Regions from separate parts of the Homo sapiens genome. Here regions 1, 3 and 4 are each linked to region 2. Evidence: promoter capture Hi-C in 16 types of primary human blood cells and fetal thymus (Javierre and others, 2016). All regions are on one chromosome and are shown on one strand. The core of a region is centred on a gene start or on the middle of the fragment in contact, and the rest is flanking DNA. Distances in the headings are between cores, read along the strand shown.

Evidence for each region. Contacts are between HindIII fragments. The CHiCAGO score rates a contact against its expected background, and 5 or more counts as called.
Region 1: a contact is called between the fragment with the promoter of LAMTOR5 here and the fragment with the promoter of LINC01397 in region 2, in 7 of 17 cell types (neutrophils, naive CD8 T cells, erythroblasts and 4 more). The highest score is 7.7, in neutrophils.
Region 3: a contact is called between a fragment that was not itself captured here and the fragment with the promoter of LINC01397 in region 2, in 1 of 17 cell types (fetal thymus). The highest score is 5.9, in fetal thymus.
Region 4: a fragment that was not itself captured here is called in contact with the fragment with the promoter of LINC01397 in region 2 in 1 of 17 cell types (fetal thymus); the score reaches 5.6 in fetal thymus.

The regions. Positions count from the first base shown.
Region 1 is chr1:110,406,366-110,409,065 of GRCh38, reverse strand. It overlaps LAMTOR5 (late endosomal/lysosomal adaptor, MAPK and MTOR activator 5), which reads left to right and starts at 1,372. Exons shown (of 4, transcript NM_001382293.1): 1 at 1,372-1,480; 2 at 2,687-2,700. The coding sequence starts at 1,446. LAMTOR5-AS1 (LAMTOR5 and SLC16A4 antisense RNA 1) reads right to left here and starts at 1,257. Exons shown (of 3, transcript NR_102697.1): 1 at 1,112-1,257. RefSeq lists an enhancer at 1,201-1,430. The HindIII fragment of the contact is 8,453 bases long and covers 1-2,700 here.
Region 2 is chr1:110,081,314-110,084,013 of GRCh38, reverse strand. LINC01397 (long intergenic non-protein coding RNA 1397) reads right to left here and starts at 1,326. Exons shown (of 4, transcript NR_126382.1): 1 at 1,162-1,326. The HindIII fragment of the contact is 6,914 bases long and covers 1-2,560 here.
Region 3 is chr1:110,496,180-110,498,879 of GRCh38, reverse strand. No RefSeq gene overlaps it. Among named protein-coding and RNA genes, the nearest start is that of CYMP-AS1, 7.3 kb to the right of the region's middle. The HindIII fragment of the contact is 5,167 bases long and covers 1-2,700 here.
Region 4 is chr1:110,472,025-110,474,724 of GRCh38, reverse strand. LOC105378899 (a long non-coding RNA gene) reads left to right here and starts at 1,079. Exons shown (of 2, transcript XR_947699.2): 1 at 1,079-1,160; 2 at 1,865-2,183. LOC105378898 (a long non-coding RNA gene) reads right to left here and starts at 968. Exons shown (of 2, transcript XR_001738181.1): 1 at 931-968; 2 at 643-781. The HindIII fragment of the contact is 581 bases long and covers 985-1,565 here.

The DNA of each region.
Region 1 (2,700 bases), core at 123-2,622, 330 kb before region 2:
TAGCTAGGTGGGGTGGCGGGTCCCTGTAGTCCCAGCTTCTTGGGAGGCTGAGGTGGGAAGATCGCTTGAACCTAGAAGGCTGAGGCTGGACTAAGCCATGATAGTGCCACTGCACTCCAACCTTAATCCACAATTAAGATACAGCTATAAAATGGAATATTTTGCAACTACTACAAAGGATGTAAGTGAAAACTTGACATGGAAAGACATTTATTCTAAACTCTGTAAAGAAGGCCAGCTACAGAATTGTACCTCCAGTATGTATGTCAATTTTGCTTACAAAACAAACAAAACAAAAAAAACCATGCTAGGCGTGGTGACTCAGCCTGTAATCACATTTTGGGAGGCTGGAGTGGGAGGATCTGTTGAAGCAAGGAGTTTAAGACCAGCCTGGACAACACAGCGAGACCCCCATCTCTACAAAAAAACGTAAAAATTAGCCAGACATGATGGCTCGAGGCTGTGGTCCTAGCCAGTCGAGAGGCTGAGAGGTGAGGATAGCTTGAACCCAGGACGTCCGGGTTGCAATGAGCTATAATCGTTCTACTGCACTACAGCCTGGGTAACAGAGCAAGACCCTGTCCCCCAAAAAATTTATTTTAAAAAGGCAAACGAAAAAACATTAAAAGTATACATTTACAAAGACAACTATCTGAAAGGATATTCTCCAAGAAGTTAAAAGTCGTCTTTGGACAGTGGGGCCATAGATGTTTTCCTATTTTTACCAGCTTTATAATTAATTTTTAAAAGTTATTTTCAAGTAGTCCTACCCAGTCTTCCTTACGAGTTAGGACTCAAATGCCACTCTCTTCCCCTAAACTGTCCTGAGTCCCCTCACCATAATAAGCACCAATGTCTTCGTTAAAATCCCGACACTGCCAACACTCAGCTAGGGGGTTGAACCTTGCTCCATCTCGTCCTTTAGTCTCTGTGTGCGTCTTTCCCCCTACAAGCCTACTGACCCCCTCCAAGAGGTCCCGTGTCTTCCCCGTACTTGCCCCACAGGCTAGATCAGACCCTGTCTGACCCCTGGGTTATTGTAAAACTTAAGATCTGTCCCCTAGGTCTCGGAGTCGGTTGAACTAGGGTCCAAAGGTTAAAAAACACTGACACAAAATGCCAGGCCACGAACTGAAGCACTGAGGCCCGGCTGCAGACCTCTCCCGAGAGGGGAATAATCCGTGCCGGCCGGTTCCGCCATGGAGCCAGGTGCAGGTCACCTCGACGGTCACCGCGCGGGGAGCCCAAGCCTTCGTCAGGCTCTGTGCGACGGAAGCGCAGTGATGTTTTCCAGTAAAGAACGCGGACGTTGCACCGTGATCAATTTTGTCCCTTTGGAGGCGCCGTTACGGTCCACGCCCCGCTCGCGTCAAGTGACTGAGGCCTGTGGTGGAGAAGGACGTGCCGTGCCGCTGGGTTCTGAGCCGGAGTGGTCGGTGGGTGGGATGGAGGCGACCTTGGAGCAGCACTTGGAAGACACGTGAGTAGTGCGCGCCTCTTCGGCCTGTCCTGAGGTCGCGGCGGAGGAACTTGAGCGGAACGAAAGGCGCGAGCTGCGAGTACCGGCCAGGGCGTCTCGGGGACGTCGCGCGACCCCCGGGACACGGGATGAGGGGGCTAAACTCTACCCAAGGCCGCAGGGCGGGGCGGGTGACCCGGAATTAAAATCCTGCCGGGCACCGCACATTCCCTCTTGAGCGAGTCTCCCGGGCCCAGGCCACGGGCCAAAACTGCCTATCTCGTTGTTGAAATCGTCTTTACGGTCAGGGTGGTTCTGCGGAAGTTTTAGAAAACGGGTTGACTTTTGGGAAGATTGTGCCAGTTGTGCAGTGTCGAGCCCTGCAGTGTAAACAAACACGTATCTCCTGTGTGTAACCTATCAGTTACTTGGTGCTTAAGTAGATAAAAATCATTCTTTAAATTTTTCGAACAAGCAGTATCTATGTAAAATTCAAAACTGGAAAAGTGTAAAGGGTACAGAGAGACACCTGCCTCCCACCGATGTCCCTCAGCTTCCACTTACCCTCCAGGAGGTAACTTGAGTTTTTCAACAGTTGTTTTAAATGAGTTAGTACTAAAACATGCGTTTTTAACAAGAGTGAAAACATCCTAGATGTTTTTCACGCAGTGTTTGTGGCCCTCCAGAACTCAGCAGTACTTAGCACATTTTTTTCTCTCATCAGAGAGAAACTGGTTTATTTCAATTAATTAACTAGAACTTAAATTTTTTGTGTTCTTTTTTTGAGACGGAATTTCGCTCGTCTTCCAGGCTGGAGTGCAATGGCGTGATCTCGGCTCACTGCAACCTCCGCCTCCCAGGTTCAAGCGATTCTCTTGCCTCAGCCTCCCGAGTAGCTGGGATTACAGTCATGCGCCACCACGCCTGGCTAATTTTGTATTTTTAGTAGAGACGGGGTTTCTCCATGTTGGTCAGGCTGGTCTTGAACTCCCGACCTCAGGTGATCCGCCCACCTGGGCCTCCCAAAGTGCTGGGATTACAGGCGTGAGCAACCGCGCCCGGCCCTAGAACTTAATTTTTTTCTTAGGGTGTGACAATGAAAAAAGATTGAGAAATATTGATTTAAAGCACTTAATGCCTGGTACATAGAACACCTGTATGTTTGTACTTATTTAAATCCTTTTTCTCCCATTATGTACTTCAACTCTCTTGTGTTCCTGGAATTAGAATGAAGAATCCCT
Region 2 (2,700 bases), core at 77-2,576:
TAGGGCGCCCGGAGGCACAGGGTGCGAAGCTGGAGAGGAGCTGAGAGCCGCCGCCACTGCCGCTGCCGCGCCTGGACCCTCCCTCCGCAGTCCCCGCACCCACGCCGAGACTCAATTACTTTCAGGTGTGGACCATTTAATAAAATAAATCTTCCGGGGCAGGAGGCAAGTTTTTAGGGGCCAAACTCAAAGCAGCCGATTTCTAATGAATAAAGAGGGGCTTCCCTAAAATATCATACGGTTTTGGCGGAGGGGGAACCGAAGTTGGGGAACAGGGAGTGTCTCTTCCTGAAGTGATACTGTCATTGGCTGGGTGGAGAGGCCCGGAGAGACTTACTTTCTGTCGCTTTCTGACTCTCCTTGTCTCTGTCTCCAGCCATCTCTGTTCTTGAGTACATCAGAATGGAATCAACGGTTTTTGCATCGAATCACCATTAAACCAGCCAGATCCTCCCCAAGCGGAGACCCAGTGAAACTGAAAGCTCTTTCCCTCACCTCTTTCTCTTTGTTTCTCCTTTTTCTCCATCATCCATTGCCCAACATTCTCTTCATCTGAGATTTCCAAACCCGGCTTTGCAATACTCCAGGGAGACTCCAATTTACTCTAGGGCTTTGGGAAATGCTCAAAATGAAATAAACTTTAATTGACTTTAATTATTTAACTGCAAGTTATAGACCCCTGATTGGTCAGGGGAAGCAGAGAGGATGTTGGTGAATCAAACAAACCATCCCAGGATGTCACAGCTCCCTGGAGGTGAGGAATGCTGGCTTCAGCATTTCGGGGCTCAGGAACGAATCTGGGCTCCGGAAGAGAAAACCAAGTTCCCAGGAGAGTGGGGATTTGATTTCTTAAGGTTTGGGGTCAAGGAAGGCTCTCACTGACAAGAGGGACTGGACACTCTGTCCTACCCTGGGCTGCCTCCCACACCCCCTTGCTAACCATCTCCATCCCGGTTTTTGGAGGATGAAGGGAGTGGGTTTCTTCCTTCCCACTGCATGTAAAATCCTTCAGTAAGGTCTAGTGACACTGGACAAACTGCTTCCTTCTCTGTTTGCTAGAAAATTCAGACCACAACACAACTTTTGTATGAATTTCCCAGGAATCGGAGCTGATGTAAACACAGTCTATTATGGTTCTGCTCTTTTAGAAGAGTTACTCACCCCAAAGTCTCAGAGGGCTCCTTCTGCCTCCTCACACGGCCAGATCTAGGAAGCTGGTGGAGGGCAACTCACTCTGATGCAGCACCTGACAAGGGCCCACATGTTTCCCGTGCAGAGAACAAATTTGCCCCATTAAAGCGTTACTCTGTTGGGGAAAAGACTGATGCAATATTGGAAACATGCTGGGCCCACTGTGAGAGCCGGAAGAAGAGGCAGATCTTCCCAGGAAGGCAGCAAAGGCCAGTGGGCGAAACTATTCTTGCCACATCCACCCTCACTTGGCCTGGTAAATTAAGGGAGGGATTATTGACCAAAACATCTGCACAGAGCAAGACTATGGTGCTGGTGGTGTCATTACAGGGAGGGCATCTGGGGACAGACAGGGGAAGATGGTGCCAGTGTCTTGGGGAGCAGCCAGGGGAGTGTGACTTGTCCACCTGAGCTTGGGGCCAGACTGGAAAGGGACCATGTAGCTACCAAGTCCACTTCCAAGAGCCTGAACTTTAATGGAAAATAATTCCATAGTTTGGGTCCCAGCGACACTACTGATCTAAGTAGCTTATTAACAAATGGAAAATATATAAACCACACAACAATTGCCTCTAAGAAAAAATGTATTAAAATCCCCCCAAGTTATTTGCAAAATAAATAGCTGAGACCATATGGGTGAGGGGGAGAGTGGCTGTATCCTAACTAGCTGTGTGCTCTTGGCAAAAGTTCCCTCTCTAGGCCTCTGTTCCCTCATTTCTAAGTGAAGATGGCAAACTAGATCAGGGGTTCTCAAATTTTAGAGTACATTAAGATCACCTAGAAGCAACTTGTGAAAACAAGGATTGTTGGGCCCCACCCCGAGAGTTTCTGATTTAGTAGCTCTGGGGTAGGGCCCAACAATTTGCCTTTTTTTTTTTTTTTTGAGATGGAGCCTCGCTCTGTCACCCAGGCTGGAGTGCAGTGACAAGATCTCTGCTCACTGCAACCTCCACCTCCTAGGTTCAAGCGATTCTCCTGCCTCAGCTTCCTGAGTAGCTGGGATTACAGGTGCCTGCCACTGTGCCCAGCTCATTTTTGTACTTTTAGTAGAGTCGGGGTTCCGTCATGTTGCCCAGGCTGGTCTATGAACTCCTGACCTCAAGTGATCCACCCACCTCGGCCCCCCAAAGTGCTGAGATTACAGGTGTGAGCCACCACACCCGGCCATAATTTGCCTTCCTAACAAGTTCCTAGCTGTTGCTTCTGCTGCTGGCCTGAGGCCTATACTTTAAGAACCTTTGGACTCGATGATGTTTAAGCTCCCATCCAGAACCAACATTCTGTTCTATCCCATACTCCTATATTTCCCCTGCACACCCTAGAGTGTTTACAGCCAAATACGAGAGGCCGATGTTTTTACACCCAAGCTTGTACCCCCTGTCATCAATGCAGAATAAATCTTTCAGCTGGCCCACAGAGACTGGTCACCCTGCCCACTGAGGGATTCCTGACCTCTCAGGAAAGATATTCCAATTTGAACTCCTCCTTCAGCTGGCTGACTACAGCGCC
Region 3 (2,700 bases), core at 56-2,555, 410 kb before region 2:
TGACCCAGTTAACCTTAATTACTTTTTCAAAAGCCCCATCTCTAAACACAGCCACTTTCGGGGTTGGGGCTTTAGCATGTGAATTTGAGGAGACACAATTCAGTCCATAACATCCCCCTTCCTACCAGTTTCCATCACCTCACAGCTGTGGACTGCCTCTGGCTTCAGCTCTCACATCCTCCAGCAAACCTCGCTGACATGAGAAAGGTCACATCCTGTTATCCAGGGAGACTTTGTAGGTTGTTAGGAGACTGGTGAAGTCCAGGTGGCCTGTCTGGAGCAGTAGACAGAGGAGTGGGTCACAGGCCCTGCCCTGACCTGGGGAAGGAGAGGCTTTCACAAACAGGAGGAGAGCACACTTGGGCTTTCCAGGCACGGGGCCGCAGCTGCTTCTCTCTTTTCCATTCAAATCCCTGCTCTACGTCAGGGGCTTGGAAGCCCCGGCTGAATGGGAATCACACCTTCTGGACTAAAAACTGGGACGTGAGGCCTAACAAAAGATTTTTGTGATGTTTGCTGGCGTAAGTAACAGTCTGACTGATGCAGTGTGATTTCAGGATTACCAGCTTTTTTTAGGACACTGCAATCAGTTGAGGGAACTATGGGACAGAATATTGAAAATCCAAATCCAAAATATGGTCCCTCCCAATAAATCTCACCAAGACCAAACTCCCAATAACTCTTACCTCCATAAAGCTCTATGAGGATGAAGAGCATGTTTTGCTCACCATCGTGGCTTCAGCACCTGGTGATAGGGATGCTCTGTAAATATTTGATGAGAGAGAAAGAAAGACAATTCATTTGACAAGGCACACGCCCAACACATTTGTCTCTCCGACCCCAGGCCAGAGCTGCCAGCTGTGTGAGAAAAAAAGACAGTCCCCTGTGTCATCCTCTTTCATCTTCCTAGCTCAGGCACCTCCAGTGGGGCCAGTGATTTTCCAGTGTCCCTCTGCTCCTGTTGGAGAGACACATCAAGTCCCACCTAGTACCTGCACCCCTTGGGGCCTCACTAGTCCCCAAGCTGGGGTGTTCCCAAGGCCGGGGCAACTCCAGCCCTGGGAAAGAGCTACTTTTAGGGCCTGGGGAAGGTAAGGACTAATGGGAACCAGGGCAGCATGGGGATGACAGAGAGGAAGAGAAGACACCACTCTTAGGACGCTGCTTAAGGCTAGAAGGAAGATCCAGATCTAAGTGGTCAAAGGAGAGAAGGTGGCTTGGGAGACATATGCACAAGTGCCCACTGCCCTTTGCCAGGAAGCACTCCGTGGGATGCAGAAAGCCATTTTTCTCCCTCTTGGGTCCAAATAAAATCTTTGAAGCCCAGTCCAAATCCATACCCAGGCTGCCACCCAGTGATAGAGTGTCCACGGGGCACTTTCTGCACCAGCCGTAATCAGTTCATTCATCAGACTTTCAAGCCGAAGAATAATTTCTGAAGATTCTTGGATTCCCAGTCCACTCTCACCCTGACTGGTCTGCGTCTGGGACTCCCAGGAAAAGCGCGGACTCAGGAAAGCACTTGGAGATTCTCTACTCTTTGCGTATCATCCACTCTACAAGGGGCATGAGCCCAGGTGGTGGAAGTCAAGCCAAAGCATCCCTTCAGCTTGAGGCCACCTACCTTCCTAACTCAGGAGCTGAGGCCAAGAGACTGGCCACCAGCATAACTCGGGAGGTCCCAGGGCACTGACTTAAGCCTAGGCATCTGGACAGCCAGTTTGCCCACAGCCACCTCATTGCATAAGAGCTATGCTCTCGATGAGAAATGTGCACCCCAGGGAGCAGATATGGGGGTGTGGCTGAGATTTGGCACTGGACTTCCAAAGCTGCAGGAGGTGTGGCTGGCACCTGTGGGCCCAGGACCCTCCCTGACACATGGGAGGCCTGTCTCCAGAGGCTCCTTATTCCCTCTTACAGGCCCTAAAAATAAAGCTACCAGGACACAGTTATTCTGGCCTCAGTGTTAAACAGAGCCCTGGGAAAGAAAGGGGCTCTCGAGTTTCATGGATGGGGTCAGAGGAGAGGGCAAGGACAAAAGGTGGTGGAGGCTTAGTGCCCAGGAATGGAGCTTCAGCTTTGGCTTTGAGGATACCAAGGCCACCAGCACAGAGAAGGTGGCCAGGGCCATGAGAAGTCCTTAAAAAGGAAGCACAATTCCACCAGCCAGAATGGGGTGACAAGTTTGGTCTGCATGTTATCCAGCCAGCATCAGCCTCAGCTCTGAAACTCCATGGAGTGCCTAGTGGACCAGATCCTAGCTGTCTTCCACCCCTCCACTACTACGGAATGATGGGCTAATTTGCTGACCTGGAAAGCTAATGCTATTCCCAAGCCCCTCAGGCACACACAGCATGCACATCCTCACCCAGCCAGCCCTAGCTCAAAATGTAATTCCAGTATTACAGATGATCCAGAAAGATCAGAAAGGGGGGATTATCGGAGAGCAAAGGTTGAGAAGGAAATGGTTAACCAGAGAGATGTCCAGTGAGTGAGGGATTTGAGGGCAGGGACCATATATCCTGAGTCTGCGTGCTTCGTGTAGAAGCTGCCACTGTGCCCTGCACATAGGAGACACTTAGTTAATTCTATTGATTGGTTGGCCACTGTCCCTAAGTTCTCCTGGGGTGGGAAGGAGAAATGTTACAGGATATAAACAAGATGTACAAAGCTGGCATCTGAGATTTGGTCACTAGAGGG
Region 4 (2,700 bases), core at 26-2,525, 390 kb before region 2:
GGATTGCACTTTTTTGTCTGTATAGTGGAAGCAGACAATCAGGTTCTGTTGAGCCCACCCACATTGTCTGCAGTAACCACCCACTCCACCACCAGCGCAGTTTGCTCCTCGGTCTGGGATGTTCTCAGAGTGCTTATCTCACTGCTCAGTGATGGCTTACACATCAGCCTCCCTCTGGACTAAGAACTCTAGGGCAGGAATTTTGTCTGAATTTTCTCTGTAACTCTAAACACCTAGAACAATGCCTGACCTAAAATAAGCACTCAGTAAATGTTAAATTCATCCTCCCATTCACTCAACAGCTATATACAGAAGTAAGCAAATGAGGCCATGGGACTTCCTTCCCAAAAGAGGTCTCCAGTGGCTGAAATCAGGGAGTAAGTGCCCACGTGACCCACATATGGACAGTCAGTGGCCTGTGGCCCACCACAGCAACACCTCCTCCTCTGCCAATGAGGTCACCTGGCCCTTGTGCCAAGCACTGAGCATGTAGAGGTGAGTAAGCTCCTCTCCCTGCCCTCAGGGAGCTTGTAGTCCAGTGGAACACACAGACGTGTAGGCAACTAAGTATAATTCAATGCATGAGTCCTTTCCTTGGCTTACGGACCAGTGCTACTGGGGAAGGGAGAGTAGAGCACTCGCCTGTATGAGGAAAGGCAGGGAGCTTCATCCAGGGATGAGCTGGTATATTGATCATGTTCTCTGATTTTCCATATTCTTGATGCTCTGGCATCTGGGGCCTTGATCCTTGAGAGACTGCCCTCACAGGACTAGCTAATTCCTAGGCATGGCGAAAGACTCCCCTGTGAGCCTGTCTTTGATATACGAACCAACCCACCCACAGCCCACACCCCCAACCCTCTCCTTTATCAAACTCTCAAAAAGCAAGCCAATTTTCTCCCTGCCCTAAACCACCCCAGGGTCAAATACCACTCCTCCAGCCCAGAGTCCGCTGAAATTACTCAAACTATACAATTCTAAGCTTACTCAGAATACCTACCCTGTGTCACCCATTCCTTCATGTAATAATGCAATAAAGGCTCTATGTCACAATTTCCTTTCCCTTGACCACCCCAGACAACTCCCCCCCAACCTCCACCTCCTGACTGACCCCAGTGCTTCCCAATGTGGCCCTACATGCCTCCTATGTCTAGGGGTCTGTAAGTATAAACTTCTTCCTTCATGACAATCATGTCCATGTCTGCATGTCCTACCATACCTAATTAAAACAAACCCCAGGTATAAATTTCAGAACAGCTGGCTAGAAGGGATATAATGGGGCTAGTCCTGGGGAGCATCTAGCACATCCCTAGGCAGATCTAGCCGGGAAACTCAGCTGACAGGTGCTGCACTGATCAAGGTAACACTGAGATGCTGACTTAGATACAGAGTGAGAGATGAGATGACCCCTGGGAGATCCTCCTCCCCCTAGTCTGGACCCTCTTTGATGCTCCCAACTAGAGGACTAGACATCAGTTTCATGATGCTCCTGCCACTAACATTTCAAGCTAATTTGGGAAGTGGTGAGGAGAGATCCAGCTGCCCCCTCAGCAAAGCATCAAGCTTGATCACATAACAATGAATGTTGGCAAGCATGGCCACTGACCAGGCAGCATCCTAAGCCCTTTACATGTATAAAATCACTTCTTCCCAGCCACACACCACCACAATCCTGTAAATGAGGTACTATCTGTCTCATTTTAAGGGAACCGAAGCACAGATCAGTTCAATAACCTGCCCAAGATCACACAGTCAGTAAGGGGCAGGCCCAGGATTCAGACTCAGGTAGCATGACTCTAGAATGAGGGCCCTGGATGGTGACAACACAAAGCCGGAGCTGACACTTGCATTTTTGTTGCTACAGTGCCCAGCAGGCACCGTGGAGATGGGGGCAGATGTCTGGAAGCAGAGAAGGTGCCGAGTGGAAAGCAGGGGATGAAGGCTACTTTCCTCCTGGGCAGCCGCCGGCGGGACCAGGCAGGCTTTTCTCTCTCGCCCAGGGTGCGGTGTAGAGCCTCCACTGGACTCCACCACGGGGAGGAAGACCGAGGCTACCCAGCCTCCTGGCTGCTGGCCATGGCTCTAGCCCACCCTTGCCTGTGTGTCAAGAGAGAATCCAAAACAATGTTCCTTTTGCTGTAAAGGGCATGATTAGGACAATTGGCAAAATAGTCTACATCAGATGATAGTATTGTTCTGATATTAATTTCCTGACTTCGATATTTGTACCAATTTTCATGTTAATATTTACAAGAAAATGTCCTTGATTTGGGGGGAATACTGAAGTAAAGAGTATTATGTCAGGCCGGGCACAGTGGCTCACGCCTGTAATCCCAGCACTTTAGGAGGCTGAGGCAGGTGGATCACTTGAGGTCAGGAGTTCAAGGCCAGCCTGGCCAACATGGTGAAACCCGGTCTCTACTAAAAATACAAAATTAGCCAGGCGTGGTGGTGGGTGCCTGTAATCCCAGCTACTTGGAAGGCTGAGGCAGGAGAATTGATTGAACCCAGGAGGTGGAGGTTGCAGTGAGCCGAGATCGCGCCATTGCACTCCAGCCTGGACAACAAGAGCAAAACTTCGTCTCAAAAAAAAAAAGAGTATTATGTCTGCAACTTGCTTCCTAAAAGATCCAGGGGAAGAAAAACATACATATATGTTCTATATAATTTATATAGCTATGTGTTTTCTTTATACTTATG